Regions from separate parts of the Homo sapiens genome. Here regions 1 and 3 are each linked to region 2. Evidence: promoter capture Hi-C in human tissues and cell types (Jung and others, 2019). All regions are on one chromosome and are shown on one strand. The core of a region is centred on a gene start or on the middle of the fragment in contact, and the rest is flanking DNA. Distances in the headings are between cores, read along the strand shown.

Region 1 (2,700 bases), core at 71-2,570, 130 kb before region 2:
CTGCCTGCAATGTCCTTACCATCACTTCTCTGGCAAATTCCTACTCATCTTTCAAGGTTCAGCTCAAAACTCAACTCTTTCCTAAAACGTCTCTCCTTAATACAACTACTATAACCTGATACAGAAGCTCCTTACCTTTTTAGTTTTTAGGATTTGTTTTTGTTTTTGTTTTGAGACAGGGTCTCACTCTGTGTCCCAGGCTCAATCGATCCTCCTGCCTCAGCCTCCTGAGTAGCTGGGACTACAGGCAGGCACCACCATGCCTAGCTCATTTTTTTGTAGAGACAAGGTCTCACTATGTTGCCTGGGATGGTCTCAAACTCCTGGGCTCAAGCAATCCTCCCACCTCGGCCTCCCAAAATACTGGGATTACAGGTGAGAGTCACCATGCCCAGCTCAGAAGCTGCTCTTCTTACCAACAAGGTAGAACACAAGAAACTGCTTTGGTTCATAAAACCAAAGCAGCCACGAAGAGCTTAAGCTTGCATACTCTGGAGGAATTTATACCAAACAAGATCATGAGTCCATTCTTTAAAGATTCAAATTCAATACCATTTTTCTCCTACTTGCTGATATGAGGCATCTTTTCCCAAATGACACCAATTTCTTTTTTTTTCTTTTTGGTAGAGATGAGGTCTTGCTACATTGCCCAGGGTACTGTCAAACTCCTAGCCTCGAGCAATCCTACCACCTCAGCCTCCCAAAGTGCTGGCGTTATAGGGTGTGAGCCACCACACCCAGCCAAATTTAATCTACAATAACAGTCTCTTGCAGCATGTATTAGTCTAGTTCTATGTATTTCATTTTTTTAATAGCTTTTTTTTTTCTTTTTTTTTTTTTAGAGACAGTATCTCACTCTGTTGCCCAGGCTGGAGCACAGTGGCACAATCATGGCTCACTTACAGCCTCTAGCTTCTGGGCTTAAGGGACCCTCTAGCCTCCGCCTCCTAAGTAGCTGGGATTACAGGCATGCACCAACACAAGCAGCTAATTTTTTAAAATTTTTTTTTGCAGAGATGGGGTCTCACTATGTTGCCCAGGCTGGTCTCAAACTTCTGGGCTCAAGCGATCCTCCCACCTTGGCCCCCCAAACTGGTGAGATTACAAGTGTGAGCCACAGTGCCTGCTCATAGTCTAGTTCGATAAGGAATATATTTAAAAATCTATTTTTTTTAATGAAACAAAATCTATTGAAGCACCTAGCCCTATCCTTGATAAGGAGTGTATGATAAGGATATAGGATAAGAATTACTCCTTAACAGTCATGGTATAATCATTCACCAACTGGCTCTCACTTTGACACTGTATAAATTTGAACTGGCCTTGAACCTATGAAGCCATATGTGGTTTGAGGTGAATTTCACCAGGAGTACTGTCATCTTGTTTTGCCTCAAAGTTCTTGAACAAATGCCTAGTATTATCCAGAAGTTACATTAGGATAATGGGCCTAGAAATGAATGGGCACCACTACTAATGATATTTACTGGTGGAAAGCACAGTTCATGTCCTTTTGCTTTGAAATGTTTATTTGTTCATATTTTTGAAAGGGTACTACGGTGAACACTCTATACAGTAATGATTTATTTACATGTCTATCTCCCCTATAAGACCATGAGTTCCTTGAGAGTTTACACCTGGAACAATGGCTGTATCCCACAGAGAAAGCATTATAAAGTGACAAAGAGCCAAAGCAGTGCCCAAAAATGTTTCAACATTTCATCTTACCCCAAAGAGAAGCACTAGAGTTCAATAATAAATATTTTTACCAAAAAGTTAATTCAAGTTCTAGCAGTGCAAATAATTTGCACTTCAGCTAAAATGTTAAACAGAAAAAGAAAGAAACAGAGGAAGAAAGGAGAAATTTAGATGGCTAAAGGAAATCTATTGTAGGAGGAGAGTAGTGTCTGGCAATAATTTGTTATTTCCCTAGCTCTCCTCTAACCTCCTCTGGAAGCTAGGAGAAGGAAGATGATTAAACTGCAACAAGACCTGGCTCTGAAGAGAACTGATGTTTCTGGCCCTTGTTGCCAACAGAAGGGGGAGGGTGACAGCAGTCCCTACGGGCTTTTAGAAAAAATTGCTTCCAGGTGGAAATTTTTTATGGTACTGAGCAGCCTGGAGCCATTTTTGGCTTTACTTCTTAACTACTGATGATTAAACCATGGACAATCAGGCTGCAACAATGGAAACAGACAGCTCTCAAACATCATGGTTATATGCTCCAAATTACAAAGTTAACTCTCAAAGGAGAGAAACATTTTGTTGGCAAAATCTTTTTTTAAGGGGGACGTTTTTAACTGTGTTGGGGCGGGGGTTGTCAGGTGGAGTCTGTTAAAGATTTATATTTGGTAAAACATAAAAGTAGCCAAGAACTCTGTATCATAATGATAAACATCAGTCCCATGCCAAACCTAGACACTGTAATGCAGAGTCATAGGGAGCTGAACAAAGGACAATGCTAAATGTCCTGGTATTTCAAAATTTTTCATTACTTTATTTTGGCCTGGATTAAGCATTCTATTAAATGATTATCATAGATGTCTGTAGGGAAATCCAGCCACACAACATGTGGGACAGCTAAGTCGATTTATAACCTAATCATGGTTCTGAAAAAAGTTGTGATATATATTTCTGAGTTTGGAGTGATGGCTCAAGAACATTAGCAGAAAAAAGTTACTTATAGTACCAACTCATATGAAA
Region 2 (2,700 bases), core at 22-2,521:
CAGCGTTAAAATACCAAAAGCTTAAAAAACAATTAGCCAGGCGTGGTGGTGCGCACCTGTAATCCTAGCTACTCAGGAGCCTGAGGTGGAAGGATTGCTTGAGCCCAAGAATTCAAGGCTGCAGTAAACTGTGATCACACCTCTGCACTTCAGTTTGGGCCACAGAGCGAGACTCTGTCAAAAAAAAGAAAAAAGAAAAGAAAAAAGCCTTCCTCCAAGTTGTTTCTTCCTTAGAGTTGGCAATAATAGTGGAAAGGCGGTAACTTTGCTGTTTAGCCCCAGGGGAGGGATCAGCCCTGTGGGGAATTGGGCTAAGTTATCAGAGGTTACTTACTGCCCTTGCTAAACTCTAAAGAGATTCGTTTTTTAAAAACTGACACACAATATTTGGACATATGTATATACACAATGGAATACCACTCGGCCACTAAGAAGGAAACCATGAAGAGATTCCTTTTTAATATATGTAGCTGCATGCCAACTTGTCTCACGTTCCTCCTCTCCTAGAAAAAAAAAAATGTGGATTTTTCTGAAGCACCTGCCTGGAGGTACAGACAGATGATTGCGCAAACTTGAAGCTGAAAGTGGATGGAATTGCTGCCAGGGAGACTGTAGCATGAGCAGGAGCAGAATCCTGGGGAACACACTTTTAGGGACAGGAGTCAGAAATCTCAGAGAAGCAGGGGTTACTGGTGGGATCACGGAGCTGCTCAGGGCCTAGTAAAAGGGAAAGGTTTTAATATCATTTGGAGCCACTGTGGTTCTCCCAGAGGAAGCTCCTGTCATCCAGAGAGCGGTGAGCTCCCAAACAAGCAGAGACTTCAATTCCTAAACAGGCATAAGCTTCATTCAGGGTGTTCACTGGCCACGACCAGGGACGCCCAGCACCCAGTGCAGGGCCTGCCCTGGAAGAGGTCAGTAGTGCAAAGTTAGGGCTGGAACTGGGAGGAAATTCGAGCATGCGTCCCAGCCGGAGGCTGAGCTTGCGGGCGAAGAACACGGCAGCGCTGGGAACCGGGCTAGGGCTTTCCGTGTGGGCCGCGCCTGCCGGCCCTCTCTGTTGTCCCACTTGGCACGGACTGGGCTACCGCCACGGTTTGACTTCCGCCACCAGCAACCAAGGGAACCAGATCCCAAGGGAACCAGCACCCCTGGGCGCTCGCGGCCCGAAGCCTGAGGTTCCCGCCCCGCCCCGGCAGGGCGGCCCCGCCGACACCCGTAGCGGTCCCGCCCCCCGCGGCCGCACCGCCTCCTGCCTGGTCTCGGGTGCCAGCGCCGCCGGCGGAGAACAGGAGCATGGAGGGCGGGCTGGGGCGTGCTGTGTGCTTGCTGACCGGGGCCTCCCGCGGCTTCGGCCGGACGCTGGCCCCGCTCCTGGCCTCGCTGCTGTCGCCCGGCTCCGTGCTTGTCCTTAGCGCCCGCAACGACGAGGCACTGCGCCAGCTGGAGGCCGAGCTGGGCGCCGAGCGGTCTGGCCTGCGCGTGGTGCGGGTGCCCGCCGACCTGGGCGCCGAGGCCGGCTTGCAGCAGCTGCTCGGCGCCCTGCGCGAGCTCCCCCGGCCCAAGGGGCTGCAGCGACTGCTGCTTATCAACAACGCGGGTAAGACCCCGGGGCTGGAGCGGACTCCCCATGTGAGCGCCCACTTCCTCCACCGCTGGGGAATTTAAGGGCTACTCCTAGGGGTCAGATAGGACGCCTAGAAATCTAAAGCCCTAGTTGTTCCAGCTTGAGTAGCAAGTGGAGGCGAGGTGTACAGGAAGACTCGGTGCCGTCGGGACAACAGTCTGCCCCCACTTCCTGGAAAATTGGCCAGCCGGGTTTTCCAAAGCGCCTGTAGAACTTTCCCGAGCCCCTTGCTCTGCGCCCTCTGGCGGAGGCCTGAGTCAGGGCTTGGAGTCTCCAAACAAGTAAACTCTCTGCTTCTCCAAAGGACCGCTAGAGCTTTCCTTCAGCCCCACGGCAAGGCAGGTGCCTTCTCATTCTGCAGCTTGGGATGGCTAGGTTCCCCAGCTGTGTCTTTCCGCAGAGCTGGGGAAGAGAGAAGCCTCTTCAGAAGCGCTAGGCAGCTTCCTCCTCTAGGTCTGCATGGGAAGAGGATATCTGGAGGAACTTGGGAGGGCTGGGGAAGAAGAAAGCCCCGCCTGCACTGAGTTACTCCTAAGGGTTGGTTTTTCAGGCTCTCTTGGGGATGTGTCCAAAGGCTTCGTGGACCTGAGTGACTCCACTCAAGTGAACAACTACTGGGCACTGAACTTGACCTCCATGCTCTGCCTGACTTCCAGCGTCCTGAAGGCCTTCCCGGACAGTCCTGGCCTCAACAGAACCGTGGTTAACATCTCGTCCCTCTGTGCCCTGCAACCTTTCAAAGGCTGGGCGCTGTACTGTGCAGGAAAGGCTGCTCGTGATATGCTGTTCCAGGTCCTGGCGCTGGAGGAACCTAATGTGAGGGTGCTGAACTATGCCCCAGGTAGGTGGGAAGTCCTGCCGTCCCTGTCCTCCAGAACCCACTGGTGCGCCTCTGGGGGCTGGGCAAGCGGCCTAGTCCGCCCCCTCCAGGAAACAACCCACAGGATTTTGTCCTTGAATCTTGACCCATCACCCCTTAGGGGAAATACAGACCCAGGGGAAATAGAGGTGGCAGGGGCCGGGGATACTGGTAGAGAGTGAGGAGTTTCCTGGACTGGAGGGTGGGGCAGGAA
Region 3 (2,700 bases), core at 171-2,670, 170 kb after region 2:
CCCCATAATCCCCACATGTTGAGAGAGGACATGGTGGGAGGTGATTGAATGATGGGGATGGTTCCCCCATGCTGTTCTCGTGATAGTGAGTTCCCATGAGATCTGATGGTTTGTAAGTGCTCAGAAGCTCCTCCTCCATTCCTCTCTCTCCTGCCACCTTGTGAAGAAGGTGCCTGCTTCCCCTTCCACCATATCATTTCCTAAGGCCTCCCCAGCCATGAGGAACTGTGAGACAATTAAACCACTTTTTTTATTAATTACCCAGTCTCGGGAATTTCTTTATAGCAGTATGAGACCGGACTAATACAACTGTGATGGTGGACACACGACTGAATATGGCTGTCAAAACTTAAAGAACTGCACACATAAGAAAGGTAAATTATACCTTAATAACCTGATGTTAAAAGCCATTAACAGCTGTTACCTATAAGAGGAGGGAACTAAGTAGGGAGGACGATTAAAGGATACTTTTTTCTACTTAAACATATTTGTACTGTTTGAACTTTTCTAATGAGCAAATAACTTATGTACTTGATAATAATTTCTTGAAAGTTTTAAAGAATAACAATAATATCTATCTTAAAGGGTTGTTGTGAGATCCAAATGATATAATGTAAAAAGCATACAGCACAATGTATCAACTCAGATACAGACAGACACACAGATACATAAACAGACAGCTACAGGTAGAGAGAATTTGTTACCTTCCTCTCACCTCTCACCTCCCCTATTCTCTTCACTCCCCCATCCTCACCCTCCCTTAATGACCCACATATTCTGAAATGACAAGGTACAAAGGCCCAAGGGCCACTGAGGTGACAGCCATGACTTACCTCAGTGACAAAGAGTGTGCGAGGGTCGATGATATCCAAGAAGTGCCTGAAGCGGCCATAGAAGGACGTCTGAAGAAGAGGATGAGAGAGAAGAGTGAATGGATCAGCTGCTGCACACCCTTCTCCAGACACTGGAGAGCCCCACCCTTTATGATTGGGGTCCCCCGGTCCCCAGGACTCCTCGTGTGGGTGATAAATGCCAATGAGGCCTCAGAAATCTAAGGACAGCTTTCCTGGGGCTGAGAGTTTTCCAAAGTCAACTCAGAGAGACCACTGAGATACTCAAGGACAGGCCCATCTGCTCTTCCAGGTGACTTCCATTTTCCCCTCTCTCTCCCAGTGCCCTGAGATCTATTCTGAGCCTATTAAAAGCTCCCAAGCATCCCTGGACATGTAGGCTGAAGGTGAGGCCTGGTCCCCAGCCCTCTCCCAGCCTCCCTGCCTTGCTCAGGACCTTGAGTGACAAAGCATCCTGCCTACCCGCCACAGGGTCCCTCCCCAAGGTCCAGCTCTGCCTCCAGGGGGGATCCCCAAGGGCAGCTCAAGCCTAAAAGCACTGAGCTCACAATCCTCAGGCCCTCCTTCACCCACAGCCCTGTAGCTGCTGAAGTGCAGGACAAGGGGCAGCTCCCCCAACCTTGCCCCAGAGCAGGGGCCGTGGAAAAGGAGGGCTTTATGCTAAGCGCAGCCACAGGCATTGGAGCACAATGAAAGGAAACCAAGCAACCCGGCTGCTGGGCCTTCTGCCCTGGGGACTAAGCCAGCTGGGCAAAGCTGAGCTCAAGGGGAAGACAGAGGGTGCCAAGCTCGGGGATGAAGGGGAAGCTGCAATCGCTGGGGTTCATGCCTCACTACACTCCGGGCTCTGCCCCAAATTCCTCCCTGGAGCCCCACAACTCTCCAAGCACCATCCTTTGCACAGTGGAGGAAACAGAAGCCTCCACATTCCCTCCCCTTATTTAGTAGGACACCAGACCCTGCAGCCAATTCCTGTTCCTTTCCCTTCCCAATAAGGACCCTGCAATAGGCTCCAGGTCACCTCAAAGTCCCCCCACACACCAGTTCTCATCCCACCTCCATTTCTCTCCCACCATGGCACCCCTGCATGAAGCAACCTCTAACCCCTAATGCCACCCCTACCCAGGTGCTGTCTCTCACAAACCAGATCAAGCTTTGGTCCATTCCTAACAGAAACAGCTGCCTCTCTAACCTCTTATAATCCACACAGCCCAGACCATTTTCCCATTAAAGACATACATAAGGGAGGCTCACAATGCTGTCCTGGCAAAATTTCACCTCTGAGAATGTAGTCTAAGGAAACAATCCAAGATGTTCAAAGATCTGGTCAGGTGTACATACCAAGGATATTCACTGCTGCATTCTTTACAAAGGTGGATGGTTAAATAAATGATGGTCCATTCATATGACTGAATACTATGCAGCCTTTAAAACTATGTTTTCAAACATTTATGACATGGAATAATGCTTAAAATTTTATGAAATGCATATAAGCAGTGTGATTCCAACTCAATAAACAAGGGGATAAACAGAGCTAGACAGATACTAAGTGAAAAGCAAAAAGACCAAATGACATCCAGATCCTGGTCCACTAACAGAGACCAGGGTTCCTTAGGAAAGGAGCGGATTCAAAGGCTGGGGTAGGGAGGGTACAAGATGAAACTGGTACATTTTGTTGCACCAGGAAGTAATGAAGTCTTACCCCCAAAAAATGATGGGGATATGTTAAAAGGATCAACGAAGGGCAGGTGGGACACTGTGTTCTTCCAAATGTGATACCCCGAGAAGTCCACAGCATCACTCACATAATATTCCAAAGGGACTAAATAAATCTAATCACAAGAAAACA

The links. The method cuts DNA at HindIII sites, captures the fragments that hold promoters and counts their contacts. A contact is called where the count stands out against the background at its distance.
Region 1: a contact is called between a fragment that was not itself captured here and the fragment with the promoter of SPR in region 2, in 1 of the 25 tissues and cell types used here (IMR-90 fibroblasts).
Region 3: a contact is called between a fragment that was not itself captured here and the fragment with the promoter of SPR in region 2, in 1 of the 25 tissues and cell types used here (hippocampus).

What each region holds. Positions count from the first base shown.
Region 1 is chr2:72,753,790-72,756,489 of GRCh38, forward strand. All of the region lies in intron 1 of EXOC6B (exocyst complex component 6B), which reads right to left. Among named protein-coding and RNA genes, the nearest start is that of EXOC6B, 71 kb to the right of the region's middle. The HindIII fragment of the contact is 3,950 bases long and covers 1-2,700 here.
Region 2 is chr2:72,886,137-72,888,836 of GRCh38, forward strand. It overlaps SPR (sepiapterin reductase), which reads left to right and starts at 1,272. Exons shown (of 3, transcript NM_003124.5): 1 at 1,272-1,600; 2 at 2,178-2,468. The coding sequence starts at 1,297. RefSeq lists silencers at 1,124-1,513, 2,152-2,326. The HindIII fragment of the contact is 16,003 bases long and covers 432-2,700 here.
Region 3 is chr2:73,057,695-73,060,394 of GRCh38, forward strand. SFXN5 (sideroflexin 5) reads right to left here. Exons shown (of 14, transcript NM_144579.3): 2 at 834-902. Among named protein-coding and RNA genes, the nearest start is that of SFXN5, 13 kb to the right of the region's middle. RefSeq lists an enhancer at 997-1,497. The HindIII fragment of the contact is 4,366 bases long and covers 1-2,700 here.